5 separate regions of the Homo sapiens genome follow, and all the other regions are linked to region 2. The links are contacts of gene promoters, found by promoter capture Hi-C in human tissues and cell types (Jung and others, 2019). All regions are on one chromosome and are shown on one strand. Each heading gives the region's core, a stretch centred on a gene start or on the middle of the fragment in contact. The rest is flanking DNA. Distances are from core to core; before and after follow the strand shown. Region 1 overlaps GJB6 (gap junction protein beta 6). Region 2 holds the start of CRYL1 (crystallin lambda 1). Region 3 has its middle 13 kb from the start of LINC00367. Region 4 overlaps LOC105370101 (a long non-coding RNA gene). Region 5 overlaps GJA3 (gap junction protein alpha 3).

Region 1 (2,830 bases), core at 331-2,830, 300 kb before region 2:
TCTAGAAGCAGGGTCCCTGACCTCTGCAGCTTTGGGCTTCTCCCTGTTTTTTTTTTCTAAAAACAGGGACAATTATAAGGGCAGTAGCTTTTTAAATTTCTTTGGATTTTTCTGGGTCCCCAAGCCACACGGTCTGAGGGTGTTCTATCAACATAGCAAAACTGAACAGAATATAATCTGTTTCACAATGCGCGCTTCTCGATACCGGTACTAAAAATTGGCAATCCACCTATGCCTTTAAAGGAAGAAAAGTAAAGGAGATGCCGAGCTTGCTGAGAAAAATGAGGTTAAATCCAATACAAGTGTGTCTAACTCCCCGGTCACTCAGGACAGTCTCCTGGTTCAGAGTGTCCTCCTGCAAGAGCCACAAAGGCCCTGTTATTCCTAACAGCAGAAGTGATCCAAGGGAGAAGCTGTGTCCTCTCTCCGAACCTGCCCGGTCCTGAGTGGGCTGCCCCTGGGTGCTCAGTGACCCTGAGCTGGTGTTTCCCAACTGAGACAGTGAGACAGTGGCTCTTTCCATTCTTTTCCAGGTTGTGTCACACCTGAGGGGCTCACCAACCAGCTCCGGGGATCTGCCGTGCGTATCATTCTCTGCAGGCCAACAGCCAGGGAGAAGAGAGCTCCCCTCGCAAGTGTCAAGAGATAGGCCAGGGTGATGGGTCAGCTGCGGGTTATCAAGCCCCCAAATTTCCAGCACATTGCTGCCATTACTGGCCAGGCCTGGCTGCCCCAGGAGACGCTCCCATTCAAGGAGCGGTGGGAGGATGGCAGTAAACGCAGGAGACTCAGCAAGTTTTAAGGAGGACTCAACTCCACTGACTGCTCCTGTCCTGACTTTGGTGGGTGGACAGGGTGGGTGGACAGACTGCAGAGGGGCCCAGAGGAAGGATGTTGTGGGTTGGGGGTGGCAAAGAAAGCGCCCAGCCCCCAGGTTCTCCCTTGTAAAAACACATAACCACAGGGCATAATCTTTCACAAACCCTCTTGGTTGGAGAAGATTTGAAGGCTATTTCAATTTGTGAAGTCGTCACTAATTTCAAATTACTTTCCAAAATCATCGCATCCACTGGGACCCTTTGCAACTGTAGTAAACAAAGTACCTCTTTCCTCTCCTGCTTCTGGAGGGCTGGAGCCAATGGGAGGAGCTTTTTCAATACAAAGTGAAATATTAACTCTTTCTTCGGAAACCAGAGAGGTTCATTTTAACTGATGCCTCTCTGGCTGTCTTTTAAGGAAAGAATAGATACGCTTAGCTTCTGCAGTCTTCAACTTCTAAGAATGTGATTACATTTAAACTTAAAAAGGTAAACTGTGTTCGGTTTTGTAGTAAATGTAATCATAGTGAAGAACTCGATGCTGTTTTTTCTTGTTTGTTTGTTTTTGTTTTTTGTTTTTGTTTTTTGTTTTTTTTGAGATGGAGTCTAGCTCTGTTGCCCAAGCTGGAGTACCGTGGCACGATCTCGGCTCACTGCAAGCTCCGCCTCCCGGGTTCACGCCGTTCTCCCGCCTCAGCCTCTCTGAGCAGCTGGGACTACAGGCGCCTGCCACCAAGCCCGGCTAATTTTTTGTATTTTTAGTAGAGACGGGGTTTCACCGTGTTAGCCAGGATGGTCTCGATCTCCTGACCTCATGATCCGCCCCCCTTGGCCTCCCAAAGTGCTGGGATTACAAGCATGAGCCACCGCGCCCGGCCCATGCTATATTCTTGATACTAAAGCTCCAGTCTGAAATATCTAGCTCTAAAAATAAGTAAACCATGGACTTTACTTTTGAGGATCCACACAGCATTGTGAAGATAGGTTGTTCTTTCCTTTTACAATTCAAATAATTTAGATCTATTGGCATTTGACTGCACTAATGAAATTTCTTGATTGTTTTAAAACTTCTTAGGAAATTAATCACAACTAGCTTATTTATCTATGCCATTATAATTTCACTAATGACAGAACCAAAACTAAAGCCCCCAAAGTTAGAGTGTAACCCCTCAGCATATTTTTCTAGATAGCTCTGTTCCCCTTTCAATGTCATTTAGCAAAAAAAAAAAAAAAAAAAAAAAAAAATTTTTTTTTTTTTTTTTAGACAGAGTCTTGCCCTGTTGCCCAGGGTGGAGTGCAATGGTGCAATCTCAGCTCACTGCAACATCTGCCTCCCCGGTTCTAGTGATTCTTGTGCTTCAGCCTCCTGAATAGCTGGGACTACAGGCATATGCCACCATACCTGGTTAATTTTTTTTTTTTTTTTTTTTTTTTTTTTTTTAGTAGTGACAGGGTTTTGCCACCTTGGTCAGGCTGGTCTTGAACTCCTGACCTCAGCCTCGGCCTCCCAAAGTGTTGGGATTACAGGCATGAGCCATCGCGCCTGGCCATCTAGGGAGTAGTTGATAGATCTGAGAACAGGAACATGTGCCTCCCAATTTCGAAGTTAGCTTTGGATAGTCGGGGAGTCTGCATAGATAAAAGGAAAACAATATCAAAGCAAAACAAGCAAACCTGAGTCCTGTTTCCAACGACTGCCAGTGTTTCAGACCCAAAGAATGAGGGCAAGATCCCTCTGCGAGGGTTTCAGACCTCCTTCTCCTACCCCACTGGAGTGCCTAGAAGCCAATGGTGCACAGTGATGATACGAATGTCAATCTTTGCTCGGTCAGTGAGGATGTCGCCTGTTGAGGGAAAAATAGTAGCTGTTGCCATATTCCTTTAACTCCCCCCCCCCCCGCCCCCCGCAATATGTCCCCTGAATAAACTTTGTGGGTAGTTTTTCTTCATTCCCAGAACTGTTATGAGGTAAGTTCAGAAATTGCCAGCTTCCTGATGCTCTATGCTTTGAA
Region 2 (2,768 bases), core at 25-2,524:
GTCAGGCTGGTCTCGAACTCCCGACCTCAGATGATCCGCCTGCCTCGGCCTCCCAACGTGCTGGGATTACAGGGGTGAGCCACCGCGCGCGGCCCAAAGTGCACTTTTTAATATGCCTTCACTATTCAACCACGGGCACTCATGGGCCAGAAAGAACAAAGGCACAGTTAACTCCACTGCTCTGGAGAAAAGAAAGCTGACAACAAGGAATCTGATGCCTTCCTTCAGTGGGAAGGAAACACCCTGACATTGGAAGTGGTCTCCACACCGGGTTGTACACTGATGGGGGGCGGAGTCGGGGGCAGGCCAACACCTCAACAGCAGTCACCAAAAAGGTGCTTTTAACTATCAATAGCAAGTATTAACATGTTTATAGATTGCTGCTAACAGCTGGCCAAAGAAAGGTACATACAAATGCCCCTTTTTAAAAAACAAAAATAGCAAGGATTGTAACCGTAGGGGTGGGGGGCGGGGTGGGGGAAGCACACACTAAAAATCAGTTTGGGCAGAATTTAAGCTGTTAAATGGACACACTTAGCAAACTCTCTGGGCTCCATCGGCCCCCACCTCCCCTCTGGAAACATCGCCTCGCCCAGGAATTAGGACTGCGTGTATGTTCGCCTAACACCTGCTGCGGCCTCCAGCGACATCGTCGCCGACAGGACTGCGCTGGCACCCTCCCTGCTGGGCTAGTCCTGTCTCCGTCACTAAACGCCTGTGACCTTAGGTAAACTGCTTAGTCTCAGTATTCTCATTCGTAAAATGGGGATGAGAACACAGTCGTCGCAGGATCGCAGCCAGAATTCGTTTCATTCAACACGGTGCCTGGCACTTCTATGTGGACCTGCGGGCAGACGCGGCGACATTCAACAGAGTCCAGGAACCGCAGGCCCCGCGGCCTGGGCGGTCAACCTCGGAACCTCCTGCAACGCTGGCTCCCGGGAAGCAGACCCAACTCCGCGGGGCGCCTCCACCTGCCAAGCCCCTCCAGCCGCGCCTCTCCCCGAGCCCGCCAGCGCCGTAGGGGCCGCAGGGCGCAGGGCTTCGGAGGACCGGAGGCCGGGGCGGGGACAGCGACCCGGCGCCCACCCCGAGGGCCCCACGCGAGGGCACCACGTCCCCGGCGTCTCCCCGGGCTCCAGGGGCAGCAGCGCGGCTCGGAGCCCTTTACCTGCCAACGATCACCACGCAGCCGGCCGCGGAGGACGCCATGGTTGGGCCGGGGACGCGGCGCCGCGGGCGCTGGGACCAGGCGCCGGCGGAGCTGCGAGCTCTGGGCTCCGGGGAGGGCGGGTCCCGCGCCCATTGGCTGCGCGCGCGGACCGGGAGGGCGGGGAGGGCCGCTTGGTCCCTGAGTGGGGTGCGCGCCGCGGGCCCGAGACACCGGGAGACACACGGCGCGCCGACCCTCGTGGGCAGGGGCAGGACCAGCGCGGGGGCACGTCGGGGGGTGGAAAGCGGGAAGACCACGCGCTTGTGACTGTCAGCATTCACCGTGAAGTCCGTGTCTATAGGAGGGGACACGGGCAGGCTGGCACGGGCTCTAGCGCTAAAGCACCCTAGAGAAACTGTCAGAGAATGTCCCCTTTGCTAATTCGTCTCTGAAAGACGCCTGCCGCTGCCGCCAACTGCGAACTGGGCGCAGGGACTGCGACAGCAGTGAAAGAGAACACCTGATGCGTTCATCTGCGCTACGGAAGGACACGTCTGAATTCCTCCACGGAGCACACTCTGCACTCGGTTTATGTATCAGAAAAAGGAAATGCCCTCGTGCCCTGACTCCTGGCCTTCTTGGAGCCCGGAACAGACCAAGAGGAAGGGGCATCACACATTGCCTGACAGTGGTGTGCGTCCACACAGCACAAGCTGAACGGGAAATGACACAGTCATTAGACAGAGGAGACAGTACTCAAGCTGGAACCGCAGCCAACACTGAGATGATAAAAGGAAGTCTTCCTTTGTTTCCCCTGAGTCAGGAACGTGGAAAGAGAAATCTCAGGGGAGGGGTTAGGTTTTTTTGTTTTGTTTTGTTTTTTAAAGAACAGTTTCACAAATTATCGATAAATATTTGTAAAGTATTCAACCTCAAGAGAAATGAAAAGTAACACAAGGAAGATAAGTCATCTCTCACTCATCAGATTGGCTAAGTCACATGGATTGATTATATTCCCATATCCGTAATGGAGTGTTTCGGACATGCAACTTACACACAGTAGAAGGCAAGCTTAAATGTTGAGGACTTTTTGGAGGGAATGTTACAGTACATTGTTGAGACAGCCGCTAGCCTGAGCAACCGCGCCTGCTCTGGCTGAGAATACAAGGCTCCAAAGCTTCCATCTTCTGATGGAGCAGTTTCTGTAGTCAGTTACACAGGCAGCCAATATAATAATCAAGGCACCCAGGGAGTGAGCATCCTGTGACTGCTCACTACCGGAGGCTATGGGGGCAGCAGACTGGCTTGTTTGCTGCTCCCTGCAAAGTCATGCCTGAAATCCCAGCGCTTTGGGAAGCTGAGTAGTAAATAATAGCTTGAGGCCAGGAGTTCAAGACCAGCCTGGGCAACAAAGCGAGACCCCTGTCTCTACCAAAAAATTAAAAAACTTATCCAGGCTGGTGCCGCCTGTAGTCTCAGCTACTCAGTAGGCTGAGGCAGGAGGATTGCTTGAAGCCAGGAGTTTGAGACCAGCCTGTGCGAGATAGTGAGAACCCCCCCCCCCGCATCTCTAGTGTGTGTGTATATATATGTGTGTGTGTGTGTGTGTGTGTGT
Region 3 (2,700 bases), core at 160-2,659, 440 kb after region 2:
CACAAGTCTCTAGGTTGAAAGCTTTGAGAGTGATGAGTACAATAAATGAAAACAAACTGTATCAAGGAACATCATCATGAAATGTACAATACTGGGTATACAGAAACGATCCTAACTGCTTCTAGAAAAAAAAGAGCGGGGGGATCGCTCACACAGGCTTGAGAGTCAGGACAGCATTCGACTCGCACAGAAGCACTGGAAGCAGGTAAGTAAAGCACTGGTAACTTCAAAATGCAGGGCTAGTTTTTATCCTAGAACTTTATGCCCTCTCATATTTTCAGTCAAGTAGAAGAGGAACATTTTCATACAAGCAAGAACTCAAAATGTTTCCAAGAGCAAATCACGAAAAAGGAAGATACAGCATTTGACAAAAATGCACTCCAATACAGGAAAGTGACAAAGAGAACTCCCAAGGTGACAGCTGTCTGTCAGGTTTGGAGAGCTGCCAGTCCAGACTGCAGGAGAGGGCGGACGGCATTTGCTGTCCAGGAAACAAACAGCCTGGTGTTTGACAGATCCACTGCAGAAAATAGAAAGAAAAAAACCTCTGTAGGTTCAAAGAAAACAAAGCGCTTTTCCGCGCTACCTACAGAGGGGTCCATAGGGCGTTGTTCTGGATTCCGGTCGTAACTTAAAGGGAAACTTTCACAATGTCCGGAGCCCTTGATGTCCTGCAAATGAAGGAGGAGGATGTCCTTAAGTTCCTTGCAGCAGGAACCCACTTAGGTGGCACCAATCTTGACTTCCAGATGGAACAGTACATCTATAAAAGGAAAAGTGATGGCATCTATATCATAAATCTGAAGAAGACCTGGGAGAAGCTTCTGCTGGCAGCTCGTGCTATTGTTGCCATTGAAAACCCTGCTGATGTCAGTGTTATATCCTCCAGGAATACTGGCCAGAGGGCTGTGCTGAAGTTTGCTGCGGCCACTGGAGCCACTCCAATTGCTGGCCGCTTCACTCCTGGAACCTTCACTAACCAGATCCAGGCAGCCTTCCGGGAGCCACGGCTTCTTGTGGTTACTGACCCCAGGGCTGACCCACCAGCCTCTCACGGAGGCGTCTTATGTTAACCTACCTACCATTGCTCTGTGTAACAGATTCTCCTCTGCGCTATGTGGACATTGCCATCCCATGCAACAACAAGGGAGCTCGCTCAGTGGGTTTGATGTGGTGGATGCTGGCTCGGGAAGTTCTGCGCATGCGTGGCACCATTTCTCGTGAACACCCATGGGAGGTCATGACTGATCTCTACTTCTACAGAGATCCTGAAGAGATTGAAAAAGAAGAGCAGGCTGCTGCTGAAAAGGCGGTGACCAAGGAGGAATTTCAGGGTGAATGGACTGCTCCAGCTCCTGAGTTCACTGCTACTCAGCCTGAGGTTGCAGACTGGTCTGAAGGTGTGCAGGTGCCCTCTGTGCCTATTCAGCAGTTCCCTACTGAAGACTGGAGCGCTCAGCCTGCCACGGAAGACTGGTCTGCAGCTCCCACTGTTCAGGCCACTGAATGGGTAGGAGCAACCACTGACTGGTCTTAAGCTGTTCTTGCATAGGCTCTTAAGCAGCATGGAAAAATGGTTGATGGAAAATAAACATCAGTTTCTAAAAAAAAAAAAGAAAACAAAGCAAATGAAAGAAATAAGGGAGGCCGTGCGCAGTGGCTCACACCTGTAATCCCAGCACTTTGGGAGGCTGAGGCAGGTGGATTATCTGAGGTCAGGAGCTTGAGACCAGCCTGACAAACATGGAGAAACACTGTCTCTACTAAAAAATACAAAAAAATTAGCTAGGCGTGGTGGTGGGCGCCTGTAATCCAAGCTACTTGGGAGTCTGAGGCAGGAGGATCCCTTGAACCTGGGAATCGGAGGTTGTGGTGAGCTGAGATTGTGCCATTGCACTCCAGCCTGGGCAACAGAGCAAGACACACCATCTCAAAAAAAAAAAAAATATATAAGAAATAAGGTAAAAAGTCCAAGAGGAAACAAATTTTGTACAAATGAGAAACTATAATCACAATCTATGATTTGGCTCAAAGAGTACTTTAGCATAGTCAATAATATTTACACTGACAACTGACTTAACTAAAAATTGTGATAGAACTACATAGGGAAATGAACTTGGGGCAGGGAATATAAGAGAATGAACACAGGCTGGGCGCGGTGGCTCACGCCTGTAATCCCAGCACTTTGGGAGGCCGAGGCAGGCGGATCATGAGGTCAGAAGATCGAGACCATCCTGGCTAACACGGTGAAACCCCATCTCTACTAAAAATACAAAAAATTAGCCGGGCGTGGTGGTGGGTGCCTGTAGTCCCAGCTACTCGGGAGGCTGAGGCAGGAGAATGGCGCGAACCCGGGACGCGGAGCTTGCAGTGAGCCGGAGATCGTACCACTGCACTTCAGCCTGGGTGACAGAGCGAGACTCCGTCTCATTAAAAAAAAAAAAAAAAAAAAGAGAATGACCACAATATGAAGATAATATAAAATATTTAAAATAAGTAAATCAAGAAATATCAATAAATGCCTATAGTGAAGATGCCAGAAGAAATAACTCTGAAGAGATGAGAGTGTTTGTGTTTGCAGAGCAGGAAATGGCAAGGGATGCACAGAGACTACTTTTTTTTAGTAATCTAACTTGAAAAAACTGTATATTTATTATGTTTATAAAATTAAAAAAAAATTTAAACAAAAAAGACATACCA
Region 4 (2,700 bases), core at 36-2,535, 410 kb before region 2:
GGCCAAGGGGTGCCCAGACATTTGTTGGAACCTGATCCTGGGTGTGTGTGTGGGTGTCTCTGGATGAGATGAACATTTGGATCTGAGGTCAGGTGTGTGAAGCAGACGGCCTCCCTGACGTGACCCCACCCTGCCAGTCAGCTGAAGGCCTGAAGAGATCGAAGGCTGGCCTGGCCTTCCTGCCAGCAAGAGGAAATTCCTCCAGCCTGACTGCCTTCAAGCAGGGACAGTGGTTTTTTCCCTGATTTCAGATTCCAGCTGAAATATCAGGTCTTCCTGGGTTTGAAGCCTACCGGCCTTCGGACTAGAATGACAACATTGGCTCTCCTGGGTCTCCAGCCTCCATAATCACATGAGCCACTTCCTTAGAATAAATCTCCGTCTAGCCACCTACCCAGCTGCATCCTATTAATCCTGTTCTCTGGAGAGCCCTGAGTAATGTACTACCCAAAAGCTCGTGAGCAGGTGAATGTGCACACAATGGGACTCCCAGCAATGAAAAGGGACACAGGACTGCAGCCTGCGGCGGCAGAGATAAATCTTGGAAACATGAGTTGAGTGAAAAAGGCAGCCACAGAGGAGTCCATACAGTATAGTCCCACTTACATGAGGTTCCAAAAAGGTGATAGTGCCCAAAAGCAGGTCAGTGATTGCCTGGGCCTGACAGTGAAGGAGAATTGACAAGGAGCACAGGGAAACTTTCGGGGTGACAGAAATGTTCTTGATTTGATTGTGGTAATGACTACATACACATTTGGCATACAAATGTGGGAAAAGTAAAAAAAAAAAAAAAAAGAGAGAGAGAGAAGAAAAGAAAAAGAAAAACAAGAAGCCAAGCACAGGGGCTCACACCAAGTAATCCCAAAACTTGGGAGGCCAAGGTGGGAGGATCACTTAAAACCAGGAATTCAGGACACACGCCTGTAGTCCCAACTACTTGAGAGTTCCAGGCAGGAGGATTGTTTTTGCCCAGGAGGTCAAGGCTGCAGTGATCGTGCCGCTGCAATCCAGCCTGGGTGACAGAGAGAGACCTTGTCTCTTAAAAAAAAAAAAAAAAAATGGCCGTGTACGGTGGCTCACACCTGTAATCCCAGCACTTTGGGAGTCCATGGTGGGTGGATCGCTTGAGCTCAGGAGTTTGAGACAAGCTTGGGCAACATGGCAAACCTCATCTCTACCAAAAATACGAAAAATTAGCCGGGCACGGTGGCACGCACCTGTGGTATCAGCTACTCGGGAGGCTGAGGTGGGGGGATCCGTTGAGCCCGGGAGGTTGCAGTGAGCCATGGTAGCACCACTGCAGTCCAGCCTGGATGACAGAGTGAGACCCTGGCTCATAAATAAATAAATAAATAAAAAATAATTAAAAAAAAAACAGAATTCTCCAGCCCTGGCAAAGGACTAAACTTTTCTCTGATGCTCCAATCTGTGTCAGATGAAGTTTCAGCCAGAATCCAATGTTTCATTCATTCATTCATTCATGCATTTGATCACCATTAAGTGCCTACTGCATGGTAAGCCGTGGTCCAGGCAGATTCAGTCCCAGCCTACCTGGAGCACAGATGGGCATGGAGGTCTTCGCTAGGTCCCCTTTCCACCTGTAGGCAGTAAAGCCAACATTCCCCGTCCTCCCAATCCCCACCATTTATGGAAATGAGATCCTGCCATGTGAAGTGGCTGACTCTGAAAATAACATGGCAAGTCAGAAGAGGCACTGGTGTTAGAACTTGGGAAATTCTTGGTGGTTGTTGTTGTTGTTGTTGTTGTTTGTTTGTTTTTTGAGACAGAGTTTCGCTCTTGTTGCCCAGGCTGGAGTGCGATGGCGCGATCTCCGCTTACCACAACCTCTGCCTCCCAGGTTCAAGCGATTCTCCTTCCTCAGCCTCCCGAGTAGCTGGGATTACAGACACCTGCCACTACACCCAACTAATTTTTGTATTTTTAGTACAGACAGGGTTTTGCTGTGTTGGCCAGGCTGGTCTCGAACTCCTGACCTCAAGTGATCCGTCTGCCTTGGCCTCCCAAAGTGCTGGGATTACAGGTGTGAGCCACTGTGTCTGGCTAAACCTGAAACTATATCTTGTCTGTGCATTTTTGATTTGTATCATTTGTATTTTTTATAATTTGTGTTTGTATTTTATATAATTTGTATCACCATTTTGCATGTTTTCTGAGTACCAATCTCACCACACCGTCATGAAGTATGAAACTCTAGTTGACAGCTGAAGGAAGGGAAACACAGAACTTTTCAATGTCACGTCCAAGTCCACACACTGAGTAAGCGGAGAGCCAGGATGGAGGGGGCCCTTAAACATGAGGCGGCTCTGCCCCCACCTTCGCAGGTGTTGGGGCATTTGGTTCCCGTGACACCCCAGCAGGTGCGGTTATTATCCCTGTGCATTTTATGAGGAAAAAACAAAACCTGGAGACGTTAGATCACGTCCAAGAGCTCGAATTCAAATGTGGGGCTTTCAGGTCCGAAGCCCATGTTCCTGGACTCTACCGCACTGCATCTCAACTCTGATGATGGGAGCAGAAGAGTTGACAGAAAGCTAGGAACAGGAGAAGGGAAGGAAGAGGGAGAGACAGAGGCAGGGAGAGAGGACACAGGAGCAGCAAGGCCTCTACCTGCACAGCCCCTGGGCCCACCCTGGAGAAAACACTGTTCTTGGAAGACCTGAGCGGCTGGTGAGGGGGGAC
Region 5 (3,021 bases), core at 522-3,021, 380 kb before region 2:
TAGAATCATGGATACCTCAAAGAGCAAAAGGATGTGAAACATGCGTTCATTTCTTACATGAACTGAAATCAGTATGCTAACCTGAAAAAACACCACAGGCACTGTTCTATTGCAAAACCTCACTTCTTTATAGATTAGTGATTTTCAAGTAGGTGAATCTAATTCTACACTCCTATCCACTCTAAATGGACCCACTAGACTATGGTCAATGGTACAATACTGGCATTTCCATAAACATATTGTGACTAAATTCAATTTTAAAATGTAAAAACTAGATACAATTTGAGTTCTCATGCTCATCTCCAACCCCACTCAAAATCAAATTGTGGGTAAATAAGAAGCTTGTTACTGTTATGAACATTTATTATGGTAGAACTTAAAGAACCAAGTATTGACATCCACTTGTACTTGAGCTGTACTTGTGCTCTTGGATGATTGCTATTGCATTTTCTAAAATGGCCAAAGCTTTTTATCGGAATGCTTCTCACACTAGGATCTTCTAGCAGCCCTTATCACTCACAAGAACTAAGTCCTGCTGCCCTAGGCCTATGGCATACACTGCATGTAATGAGTGAACTTCGGAGAGAAGTTATGCATCTAGAATGGCTGTAGTTATGCACCAGCCTGGAGAGGAGTGAGAAAGTCACTCACAGTTTTCCAAAGGGCTAATTTCTCTCTTGTCAATCTGGTTGAGAAAGTCTCTGAGGAGACGTATGGAAAAGTTAGCATTTTTCAAGCCTAGGAGCCTGTCCAGTGCATCCTACAGCAAGCAGAATGTACTAACAAATTCTTTGTGTTTGACTGACATGAAAAACTAGTTGCATGCAAGAATCTGAGACTTGGAAATTGCATTCCTTTCATCAGATTGTTAGTGGAGCACCCTTTATGATAGAAAACAGAAAGTATGTTTGGAGTGTGGTCCCAAATGCATCATCGAGAAGTTAATTTATAAAAAGAAATGTATTACATTGGTCTCGCTGAACAAGGGCTAATGATACTCAGTAGAAGTTGGAGGTGAAAAGTGTGAGTAGAAACAGGCTCAACATGACCATCGTTCATTTTATAAACAAATGGTGACCAAGATACTACAGCTGTGTGTGCAGGACAGAAAATTCTGCCGTCTTCCAGCCATGCCCACACACATAAATAGCCTTCCCTGTCAGGACAGCTCTGGTGTGGAGGCAGAATGGGGCATACAGCCTGCATGAGCACGCGCCCTCCCCCAGGCAGGGATCCCCAGACACTTATATTATTTACACTGGAGAAAGCAAACAGGCTGCCCACAAAGAATGATTAGGAAGCTTGAAGTGTTTTATTCTGTACTTTTTAAAAGTGTAGATTGTCATAGATTCATCTGTATAAATAATTTTCCTGGCAACAGTAGTTCACTTTTCACTTCCCATTCAAAATCTTCAGAACTTCTATTTGAATGCACTTAAAACTTTCCCCTGCTTTTGTTTTATATAATACATTCTCATTATAATTAGGTGACTCATGAAATTAAAGAATTTCTTTTACAAGAAAGTTCAAAATCTTTAGTAAAGATGCTAGTAGCATGCATTAGGGCAAATTAGCACTGTCTTGGTCAGCAATCATTCTAACAGTATTTAAAGAAAGAAAAACACTATTTTTCTTTCATTTTTCCTGAAAGAAAGTGGGAGAAAATAGGCATAGCTGCACCATTCAAAGCACAAAATAATCATTTAGAAAATAAATACCTACGGCATACCCGACACACTTTTATGTCAATTTCCTCAACTGTTTAAAAATGGCCTCAGGCGTGGCTGCGTTTCCACCTGCCTTCTGCCAGCAACCTCTGGGGCCCTTGCCCACTGAGCCTGCCTCTGGAGGGCAACTGCTCTTTGTCACTTGTCATGAGGCCTGAAGCTTGATATCCTGGGCTTCACATGCAATTTCGGAAACTCAAATGACACTACATAGACTTGCTGTAAATCTTTTTTTAGTGCAGTTTGGCAAATATCCCAAATGAAATTCAACTCTAAGTTAAAAGTATCAAAGAGATAGAGCTAAGTGCTCTGGCCCAGAGCTAAGACCCTCTGGGCCGCCCAGAGGCTCTGGAGAGCTTAGGAATAGCAAACCCAATTGCCCAGGAGCTAAAGGGACTGCAGGATACCTGTTGCTTTACCACTACAGAACAGTTACCCCCAGAGACAGCCCTCAGCGACCAGATTTCTGGGCTGCTGTGAAGATCTTAAAGGCCCACAACCCTTGTCCCCGCCACCCCCAAACTCAGAAAGTGGGAGTTATCCCCACTGTAACTCACAGTGCTAAGAACAGCAAGCATTGAACACGGAAACCTGATCTCTCCTCCATCGTCCACCTCCTGGGACTCCAGTCGCTCCCACCTCCTGGGACTTTCAGGTTCTATCTGCTGGTGGGAAGTGCACTTTGGTTTTGGTTTCTAAGAAAAAGATCACTACACAGCTGTCTGGAGGCAGGCACCCGGGCACTAGATGGCCAAGTCCTCCGGTCTGGCCCGCCCGCTGCTGGCCCTGCTGGCCTTGCTGGCCCGACCTGGGTCTCCGAGGGGCAAGGGCGGCTGGTGCATCTGGGCCGCGGTGGTCACGGCCTGCTCCTCCTCCTCGGGGGTCCCTGCCAGGGCGCTCCCCTCCAGACTGCTGCCGCTCCCATCCAGCAGCAGGGGCGCCGCGCCCGCCTCAGCCTCGTGCGCGAGTGGCGGGGAGCTGCTGCCGACGGGGCTGGGGGCTGCAGGCGTGGACGCTGCCGGGTAAGCCTTGAGCGCCGGGGGCTGCCGCTCGGCCGCCTGGTTGGCCCAGTTCTGCTCAGTCATCAGCAGGTGGTGGTGGCCGTTGTAGAGCTTGGCGGACTGGCCCTTTCCGCGCGCCTCGGTCAGGGCTAGCAGTTTGAAGTCCGCGGCTGGTGGCGGGGCCCCGGGGTAGCCCACGGCGCGGGCCTGTCCCAGGGGCGCAGCGGTGTGCGCATAGTAGGGTGGGAACCCGATGGCAACGGCGGGCGGCCGGGAGCTGGGGGGCAGGGGCG

What was found. Contacts are between HindIII fragments. The study calls those that stand out against the background at their distance.
Region 1: a contact is called between a fragment that was not itself captured here and the fragment with the promoter of CRYL1 in region 2, in 1 of the 25 tissues and cell types used here (mesenchymal stem cells).
Region 3: a fragment that was not itself captured here is called in contact with the fragment with the promoter of CRYL1 in region 2 in 2 of the 25 tissues and cell types used here (heart right ventricle and spleen).
Region 4: a contact is called between a fragment that was not itself captured here and the fragment with the promoter of CRYL1 in region 2, in 1 of the 25 tissues and cell types used here (mesenchymal stem cells).
Region 5: a fragment that was not itself captured here is called in contact with the fragment with the promoter of CRYL1 in region 2 in 2 of the 25 tissues and cell types used here (heart left ventricle and thymus).

The regions. Positions count from the first base shown.
Region 1 is chr13:20,227,088-20,229,917 of GRCh38, forward strand. It overlaps GJB6 (gap junction protein beta 6), which reads right to left. Exons shown (of 5, transcript NM_001110219.3): 4 at 2,493-2,662. Among named protein-coding and RNA genes, the nearest start is that of GJB6, 3.8 kb to the right of the region's middle. The HindIII fragment of the contact is 5,423 bases long and covers 1-2,830 here.
Region 2 is chr13:20,524,583-20,527,350 of GRCh38, forward strand. It overlaps CRYL1 (crystallin lambda 1), which reads right to left and starts at 1,275. Exons shown (of 8, transcript NM_015974.3): 1 at 1,172-1,275. The coding sequence starts at 1,212. RefSeq lists a silencer at 951-1,500 and an enhancer at 1,681-1,790. The HindIII fragment of the contact is 16,444 bases long and covers 1-2,768 here.
Region 3 is chr13:20,960,662-20,963,361 of GRCh38, forward strand. It overlaps the pseudogene RPSAP54. Among named protein-coding and RNA genes, the nearest start is that of LINC00367, 13 kb to the left of the region's middle. The HindIII fragment of the contact is 5,622 bases long and covers 1-2,700 here.
Region 4 is chr13:20,110,720-20,113,419 of GRCh38, forward strand. All of the region lies in intron 1 of LOC105370101 (a long non-coding RNA gene), which reads right to left. Among named protein-coding and RNA genes, the nearest start is that of LINC01072, 9.4 kb to the left of the region's middle. The HindIII fragment of the contact is 5,033 bases long and covers 1-2,700 here.
Region 5 is chr13:20,139,511-20,142,531 of GRCh38, forward strand. It overlaps GJA3 (gap junction protein alpha 3), which reads right to left. Exons shown (of 2, transcript NM_021954.4): 2 at 1-3,021. The coding sequence ends at 2,471. Among named protein-coding and RNA genes, the nearest start is that of GJA3, 20 kb to the right of the region's middle. RefSeq lists an enhancer at 2,050-2,551. The HindIII fragment of the contact is 4,756 bases long and covers 1-3,021 here.